Regions from separate parts of the Homo sapiens genome. Here regions 1 and 2 are each linked to region 3. The links are contacts of gene promoters, found by promoter capture Hi-C in human tissues and cell types (Jung and others, 2019). All regions are on one chromosome and are shown on one strand. The core of a region is centred on a gene start or on the middle of the fragment in contact, and the rest is flanking DNA. Distances in the headings are between cores, read along the strand shown.

Region 1 (2,700 bases), core at 168-2,667, 140 kb before region 3:
ACAAATAGCTGAGGGTGTCAGAGAGAACATCTGCAAGACCTGGCAGAGAACAGCTCTGGGAAGCGTGAGGAAGAGAGGTTCTGGAGGCCACACGGGGCAGGAGACAGACGTGTTCCCACACCCAGACTGGAGACACCTTGGGCGAATAGATTTAACAGAGATTCCACAATGGCTGTGCCATGGGGACTGGGCTACAATAGCCCAGAGTGAGGGGGTTCTCTGGACCTGGCATAATAAAGCTTAAAAACAAGCCTCAAACGGATCCTAGCTAACCAAGAGCAAATTAACTGCCTTCCAGAACAAACCACACTACTCTTTAAGGGAGGAAAACAGAACTGAGACTTTCAACAACATTGCTACCACAATACCTAGTGTACAAAAAAATTACTAGACAGGTGAAGCAGAAAAATGTAACTCATAACCAGGAAAAATAAGTCAACAGAAACAGGCCTAGAGATAACAAAGATAATGAAAGTAACAAACAAAGACTTTAAAAGAATGAAATAAATATATTCAACGATTTATTTATTTATTTAGACAGTGTCCTCTATTGCCCGGGCTGGAGTGCAGTGGCACAATCTCGGCTCACTGCAACCTCTGTCTCCCAAGTGATTCTCCTGCCTCAGCCTCCAGAGCAGCTGGGATTACAGGCGAACGCCACCAAGCACAGCTAATTTTTGTATTTTTGTAGAGATGAGGTTTCACCATGTTGGCTACGCTGGTCTCAAACTCCTCACCTAAAGTAATCTGTCCGCCTTGGCCTCCCAAAAGTGCTGGGATTACTGGCATGAGACATTGTGCCCGGCCAATATATCCAAAGATTTAGAGGAAAGGTTGGACATAATCAACAAAGCAATTAGGGCTCTGAAAAAATCGGAAACTCCACAAAATAATAAACAAAAATTCCTGGAACTGAAGAATACATCGAAAATGAAATTTTTGAGATGAAATGAACATCAGATTAAACAGTGCTAAAGAGAAGATTACAATAAAAACATCACTTATAAAAATGTGTAGAATGCAGCTAAAGCTCAGCTGAGGAAGAAATTTATAAATGTTCATATTAGGAGAGAAGGCTTAAAATGAGTGATTCATACATCCACCTTCAGAAGCCAGAAAAAGGAAGTGCATATTAAATGCAAAGTGGAAGGAAATAACAGAAATCTATGAAATGAAAAATAGACAAATAATGAAGAATTAAACACAAAGTTAGCCTGGAAAACTTAAAAAAAAAAAAAGATCAATTTCCCAAGCAGACTAAGCAGAAAAGAGACAGAGAGCCAAGAGAGGAAGAGGGCATAAATTACCGATATCAGAAATGAAAGGGACATTCCTACAGATCCTACAGATATTAAGCGGGTAACAAAGCACTATAAGGAACTGAATGCCAAGAGAAAATGTAGATGAAACAGACAAATTTTTCACAAACACAAGCTACCAAAACTGACATACAAAGAAGTAGAAAATCTGAATTTATAATTAAAAATCTTTCTACAAGGAAATGGTGGGTGCAGGTGGCTTACGGATGAACTCTACACACGATATAAGTAAGAAATAATACAAACCATACACATACTCTTTCAGAAAACAGAGGAGGAGGACCAGCATAATGCTGCTGCCAAAGTGAGACAACAGCATTCCTAGAAAAGGGAAATTACAGCCCAATATCCTTCATGAATGTGGATGCAAAACTCTGTAATAAAATAGTAACAAACTAATTCAACAACGTATTGAAAGGATAATACAGCATAGCCAAGAGAGATTCACCCAGTAATGTAAGCTTAGCTAACACCTGAAAATCAATGTCATTCACCACATTAATGAAAGGAGAAAAAAATATGGCCATCTCAATTAGATGCAGACACAGCACATGGCAAAACGTGTATGCAAACTCTCAGCAAACCAGGAACAGAAGGGACCATCCTCAGCTGAGAAAGGACACCTATAAAAAATCTGAAGCTAACATCAAATGCTGCTGATGGAGTAAAGATTTTCCCCCTAAAATCAGAAACAAGGAAGGGGCTCTGAGCACTTCTCACTCTCACCACTCTTATTCGGTGTCACTCTTATACCAGCGGCACAATGAGGCCACTGTAATGAGGCAAGACAAAGGTATACAAGGCATAAATACTGGAAAGGAAAAGGTCGTCTTGTTTGGCAGGTAACATGGTTATGTAAACAGAAAAGTCTAAGGAAACTGGGGCAAGTCTGCTAGAACTAATAAGTAAATTTAGTGGCATCACAGGGCACAAGGTCAGTAAAGAAAATTAATTTTATTCCTATATAATAGCAACAAATAAATGGAAAATACAATTATAAAACTGCTATTTACAATATAATTTTTAAATTTAGGAATAATCTTAACACAAATGTACAAAGCCTCTCACTGAAAAGCACAAAACAATGCTGAGAAAAATTAAAGACCTAAACACATAAAAAAATTTGCCATGGCCATGGATTAGAAGACTCAATATTGTTAAGATGTCAATTTTCTTAATTAAATACAATCCTATCAAAATCCCGGGATAATTTCTTATTTTTAAAAGAAATTAACAAGAAGATTCTTGGTTTTTTGTTTGTTTTTTGTTTGTTTGTTTTGAGACGGAGTTTCACTCTTCTTACCCAGGCTAGAGTGCAATGGCACAATCTCAGCTCACTGCAACCTCTGCCTCCCGGGTTCAAGTGATTCTCCTGTCTCAG
Region 2 (2,700 bases), core at 146-2,645, 190 kb after region 3:
AATCCTCCCCTTGCAGAAGGCTCTGGGCCTGGGCCTTGCCTGTGTCCCCTCCCCTGCAAGGAACCACCCTTCCTCCATGGAGGGGCAGCTTGGTGGGCCTGTCCATCAACTGGTGGCTGTGGCCATGCTCCCCGAGAAGGAAGACCGTGTCATTCCAGGGACTGCTCATGGGCTCCCGGACCAGGAAGCCTGAATGGGCTCTTTGGTTCTTTCTTCTGGTCTGACGGCTGCCCCTCCTTCCAATAAATGCCCTCTTTTCTTCCTGGCTTAAGTTCGCCAGCTTCAGTTTGTGTTATTGCAACCAGAGAGCCTTAACCATCCCCAGGGCTCTGTGATGATTCCACTGGAATTTCCCGGTGGTGGTGGGGCACTGAGGCCCTGGGGAGGCTACGGCCCTAGGAGGCTGGGCCTGGGGCATGGGCGGCCAGGAGCCTGCTGGGTGGCTGGGCGCTCTGGGCATCACGTCCAGGGCCTTCCCGGGAGAAAGGCCAGATACAGGCCCAAACACCAAGCTCTTTCCCTCCCTTCCCCAGGAGAAGGGCCCCATGGGAGCAGGGGTGTCTCCTTCCATAAACGGACAGGGGCTGGGCTCACGTGTGAGTCCCCTAGAAGGGGTGACAACTTCTGGCCTTTCTGAGAATACTCCAGGATGACAAGGTGGGGAGATGTGGAGCTGCAAGAAGTGCTAGCATGTTCCTCGGGAATGAGGAGATCTCAGAGTCATGAGGGCTTAACCCACATTGTAGTGGGCCCAGGAATGGGACTAACTTCTGGATAAACTCAGGGAGAATGCACCAGAAGACAGCAGCCCACAGAGCTGCCTTGCCACGCATTCCCGGGATGAAGGCAGCTGAGGCAGGAGCTCTAGGCTGGCTAAGAACACAGGTGTCATCCAGGACCACTTGATGTCAGCTGGGGCCACCCAAACTGCCTCAAAACCTACAAACGGTGGCTGTGTTGGCCATGCATGGGGCACCCCATGTAAGAGCAAATGGCGCAGGTGACCCACCTGTTGGAGTGGGTCTGGTTGGACAAACCAAGGGGTGTCCACGCTGGGGAGCCTCTGTGGCTGACAGTGGGTGAGAGGCTCTGGGCAAAGCTGTGGCTGGTCTCCCAGACCCGTGTCTGGGGCACTCAACATGGGGCAGACCAGATGGGGATTAACACACTGTCGTTTACTAAGAAAGGTTTTGGGGTGTGAATAAATATCTTTTAAAAGATGGAACTGTCAATCAAAGCTTGCAAAAAGAGACCGGGCGCCATGGCTCATGCCTGTAATCCCAGCACTTCGGGAGGATGAGGCGGGCAGATCACATGAGGCTAGGAGTTTGAGACCAGCCTGGGCAACATGGCGAAATCCCGTCTCTACTAAAAATACAAAAATTAGCCAGGTGAGGTGGTGGGCGCCTGCAGCCCCACCTACTCAGGAGGCTGAGGCAGGAGAACGACTTGAACCCAGGAGGCGGAGGTTGCAGTGAGCCGAGATCACACCACTGCACTCCAGCCTGGGCAATACAGCAAGACTCTGTCTCAAAAAAATAAAAATAAAGCTTGCAAAAAGGGGCAAGGGGCACCTGAAAGAGACAGCAACCAGGATGCTGAGCAACCTGCCTGTGCCCTGTAGTTTTTTCAGTCATAAAACAGTTCACATAAAACAGTTCACAGTCATAAAACGGTTCAGATAAACGTATGCACTCCAAGAAGTCAAGAAAGAAACTTAAAATCCTGTAGGTAAATTAGAAATATCAGTATGATTCCATGATATATTTACCTTTAAAAATATATATTTCCAGCTGGGCCACAGTGGCTCACTCCTGTAATCCCAGCACTTTGAGACGCCTAGGCGGGTGGATCACTTGAGGTCAGGGGTTCAAGACTAGCCTGGCCAACATGGTGAAACTCTGTCTCTACTAAAAATACAAACATTAGTTGGGCATGGTGGTGCATGCCTGTAATCCCAGCTACTCAGGAGGCTGAGGCAGGAGAATTGCTTGAACCCAGGAGGTGGAGGTTGTAGTGAGCTGGGATCATGCCACTGCACTCCAGCCTGGGTGACAGAGCAAGACTTTATCTTAAAAAAACAAAACAAAAAAAAGTTATTTCCTAAGCCAGTCAAAAAAAGAAAAAAGAAAAGACAAATACTGTATGATTCTATTTGTATGAGGTCCCTAGAGTAGTCAAATTTATAGTGACAGAAAGTAGGATGGCGAGTGCCAGGGGCTGGGGGAGGTGGAGGGGGAGTTGGATTTAATGGGAGCAGAGCTGCTGCTTTTCGAGACAAAAGGCATTCTGGAGCTGGATAGTGGGATGACAGCAGCGCGAATGTACTGAATGCCACGGAACTGTGCACTTAGAAGATGGTAAATTTTGTTACACATATTTTACCACCATACAAAAACTGGAAAAATAGGTCTTGCCTAATTCTGTCCACAGTAAAAGCTTAGAAACAATGAAAATAGACTAGTAGCAATGAGCACCCTGGCACCCAAAGTGGGACCTCTAAATACCCACCAAACTCCCTTCAAAAAGAACCGTGAACCCTTGGAGAAATGACTGGTTCTGGGCTGAGCCATGACATAGCCATGACATAAGATAAACCTGGAACTTCTCATTGCATCAGAAAGCTAAGAAACAATCAAAGACTACTGAGGTCATTTCAAGATGACATACCAGTCAACTTAAATGTATCCCCATTGACCA
Region 3 (2,700 bases), core at 38-2,537:
GCGAATGTATCAGGAAGCAAATGTATCTGTTGCCTCTGTTCCAGAGCTGGAGGATGCCGCCTCTGGTGGGGACAGCCAACACAAGGCGGCTCTCTCCTAATGGGTTTTCTGTTCCTCCCTGAGATACAGTCCCCTGCCCCAGAACAGAGTGGGGCTCCAGCATACACGGCAAGAGTCACCGAGTGCCAGCTGGTGTTTACACCGTGGCCTGAGGCCTGTTGACTGGGCTCGGGGCACTCACAGGTATTGTGGTCACGGGGGCAAATGGCCATCCGGTTCCCTGCTCTCCACCGGCTTTCTTTAGCATCCAGTGGGCCTGCACCCGAATGTAGTTGCTGCTTCCCAGGCTGAGCCCGGGACCCGGAGCAGGCGGGCACCCAGACAGGGCATCCTCTTCCGCTCACTGGCCCTGAAAGGGCCTCTGCCATCAGCCTGTGCCGCTGTCCGGGAGCCCCTGGGCCGGCCACGCAGTGGGGGAACCCGCTTCACAGCGACACCGTGCGGCGGCAGGAGGAACCGCTGCAGGAGACAATGCGATCTGGGTCCTGACCCAGCGCAGAGGCAGTGTCTGCCCCTTGCAATGCTTGGATTTCCTTCCTCAAAAGGCAGCCTTCGATGATCTGAAATTCAAGTTCCAGCAGGCATCCTGTACTGTATCTGTCAGCCCTGCCACCCGAGTGGTCTGAAAGCCCTGGAAGAGACCGCGGTTATCACAGGAGAACACTTTCCATGGGGAGCACGCAGCAAGCTCCAGAATAAGCGCTTAAAATCCCCGTCTCAGTCAACACTGCAAACCTTCCAACAAAGTCTTACACCGAAAACGACCCTGCTGAGCTGAGGGCTGAAGCCCCAGGTCCTGGGACCCTTGGAAACAGCCCGCGGGCCAGGAGCTGCTGTGGACCGTGAAGGTGTAGGGCCTAGGCACGTCCCAAGCAAGACACGATGCTCCCGCAGAGGAATCTTCCCGGGAGCAAGCCAGGAGTCCTGGGCTCAAAATCACCCTCGGCAAGACCAAGGCCTCTGAGCGAGCCACTGCCTGCCCATCGCTTCCTTCTTGTCACATGGAAAGGGAAACTCACCGCGGGGCCAGTGTTTACTGAGGGGCCGCTTCCATCACAGACCTGACAGCACATTCGAGAAAAGTGCGAGGAAAACAGGAGTTATTTATAAAAATGTAAAGCAGAAGAGAATACTGGGACCAGTGGCACAAGCAGGAACCAGGAAGTGACAGTGTGCCCAGCCTCTCACCTGACCCTGGACAGGGATATAAAGAGCCCGGGCTCAGGGGGCTCCACACCTGCACCTCCCTCTCACCTGCTCCTCTACCTGCTCCACCCTCAATCCACCAGAACCATGGGCTGCTGTGGCTGCTCCGGAGGCTGTGGCTCCGGCTGTGGAGGCCGTGGCTCCGGCTGTGGGGGCTGTGGCTCCGGCTGTGGAGGCTGTGGCTCTGGCTGTGGGGGCTGTGGCTCCGGCTGTGGAGGCTGTGGGGGCTGTGGCTCCGGCTGTGCGGGCTGTGGGGGATGTGGCTCCGGCTGCTGTGTGCCTGTCTGCTGCTGCAAGCCCATGTGCTGCTGTGTGCCAGCTTGTTCCTGCTCCAGCTGTGGCAAAGGGGGCTGTGGCTCTTGCGGGGGCTCCAAGAGAGGCTGTGTCTCCTGTGGGGTGTCCAAGGGGGCCTGTGGCTCCTGTGGGGGGTCCAAGGGGGGCTGTGGCTCCTGTGGGGGGTCCAAGGGGGGCTGTGGCTCCTGTGGGGGGTCCAAGGGGGGCTGTGGCTCCTGTGGGGGGTCCAAGGGGGGCTGTGGTTCTTATGGCTGCTCCCAGTCCAGCTGCTGCAAGCCCTGCTGCTGCTCCTCAGGCTGTGGGTCATCCTGCTGCCAGTCCAGCTGCTGTAAGCCTTACTGCTGCCAGTCCAGCTGCTGTAAGCCCTACTGCTGCCAGTCCAGCTGCTGTAAGCCCTGTAGCTGCTTCTCAGGCTGTGGATCATCCTGCTGCCAATCCAGCTGCTACAAGCCCTGCTGCTGCCAGTCCAGCTGCTGTGTCCCCGTGTGCTGCCAGTGTAAGATCTGAGGCTCTGACTGCAGACTGCAGGTGGCCTGACTGGTGAAGGGCCCGGCTGCCCAGCTTCCTTGCCCTGGGTTCTCTGGTGCTCCACTGTCTCCACTGTGTCCTCACTGGCTTCATCCACTCCACACCAGTGCTCCCGAAACTGACTGAGGACCCCTTCTGGCTCATTGCCTACTACTTCTCCTGAACTTCCTCTCCCTGCTCCTCACTCATTTAAGATCCAAAGCGGCCCACTGAGGCCCCAGAGGCAGATCAGACCCCTTAGACCCTGACAGCTGCTCCTTCTTTCAGGAGTGTGATCGACCCTCAATCTCTCTGGCTGTCTGTATATCAAGACTGAATCCTGACCCTCTAAATAAACAAAGTCTCTAAGCACAAAGCTCACTGTCTTGTGGTTCTCTCCTTCCCACCTCTCTCTCATTCCCAGAAGCACCATCTTCTTGCCTCCACCCCTGGGCCTGTTCCCATTTCTCTCCCCTCAGCATCTTTCATGTCATGGTCCATGTCTTCATGCACAGAACTAACGTCTATAGCTTTCTGCTCTGGGCCCCTTGTTGTGTTGGGCTCCAGAGATGACAGAGCAGAGTAAATCCAAGCTCACAGTCTGGTATGTGGGGAGAGGTGGGGAGAGGGAAA

Evidence for each region. Contacts are between HindIII fragments. The study calls those that stand out against the background at their distance.
Region 1: a contact is called between a fragment that was not itself captured here and the fragment with the promoter of KRTAP5-5 in region 3, in 2 of the 25 tissues and cell types used here (lymphoblastoid cells and mesendoderm cells).
Region 2: a contact is called between a fragment that was not itself captured here and the fragment with the promoter of KRTAP5-5 in region 3, in 3 of the 25 tissues and cell types used here (IMR-90 fibroblasts, aorta and dorsolateral prefrontal cortex).

What each region holds. Positions count from the first base shown.
Region 1 is chr11:1,492,733-1,495,432 of GRCh38, forward strand. No RefSeq gene overlaps it. Among named protein-coding and RNA genes, the nearest start is that of MOB2, 7.3 kb to the left of the region's middle. The HindIII fragment of the contact is 6,425 bases long and covers 1-2,700 here.
Region 2 is chr11:1,814,942-1,817,641 of GRCh38, forward strand. No RefSeq gene overlaps it. Among named protein-coding and RNA genes, the nearest start is that of SYT8, 19 kb to the right of the region's middle. The HindIII fragment of the contact is 5,465 bases long and covers 1-2,700 here.
Region 3 is chr11:1,628,488-1,631,187 of GRCh38, forward strand. KRTAP5-5 (keratin associated protein 5-5) reads left to right here and starts at 1,288. Exons shown (of 1, transcript NM_001001480.3): 1 at 1,288-2,443. The coding sequence starts at 1,354. The coding sequence ends at 2,067. The HindIII fragment of the contact is 7,029 bases long and covers 1-2,700 here.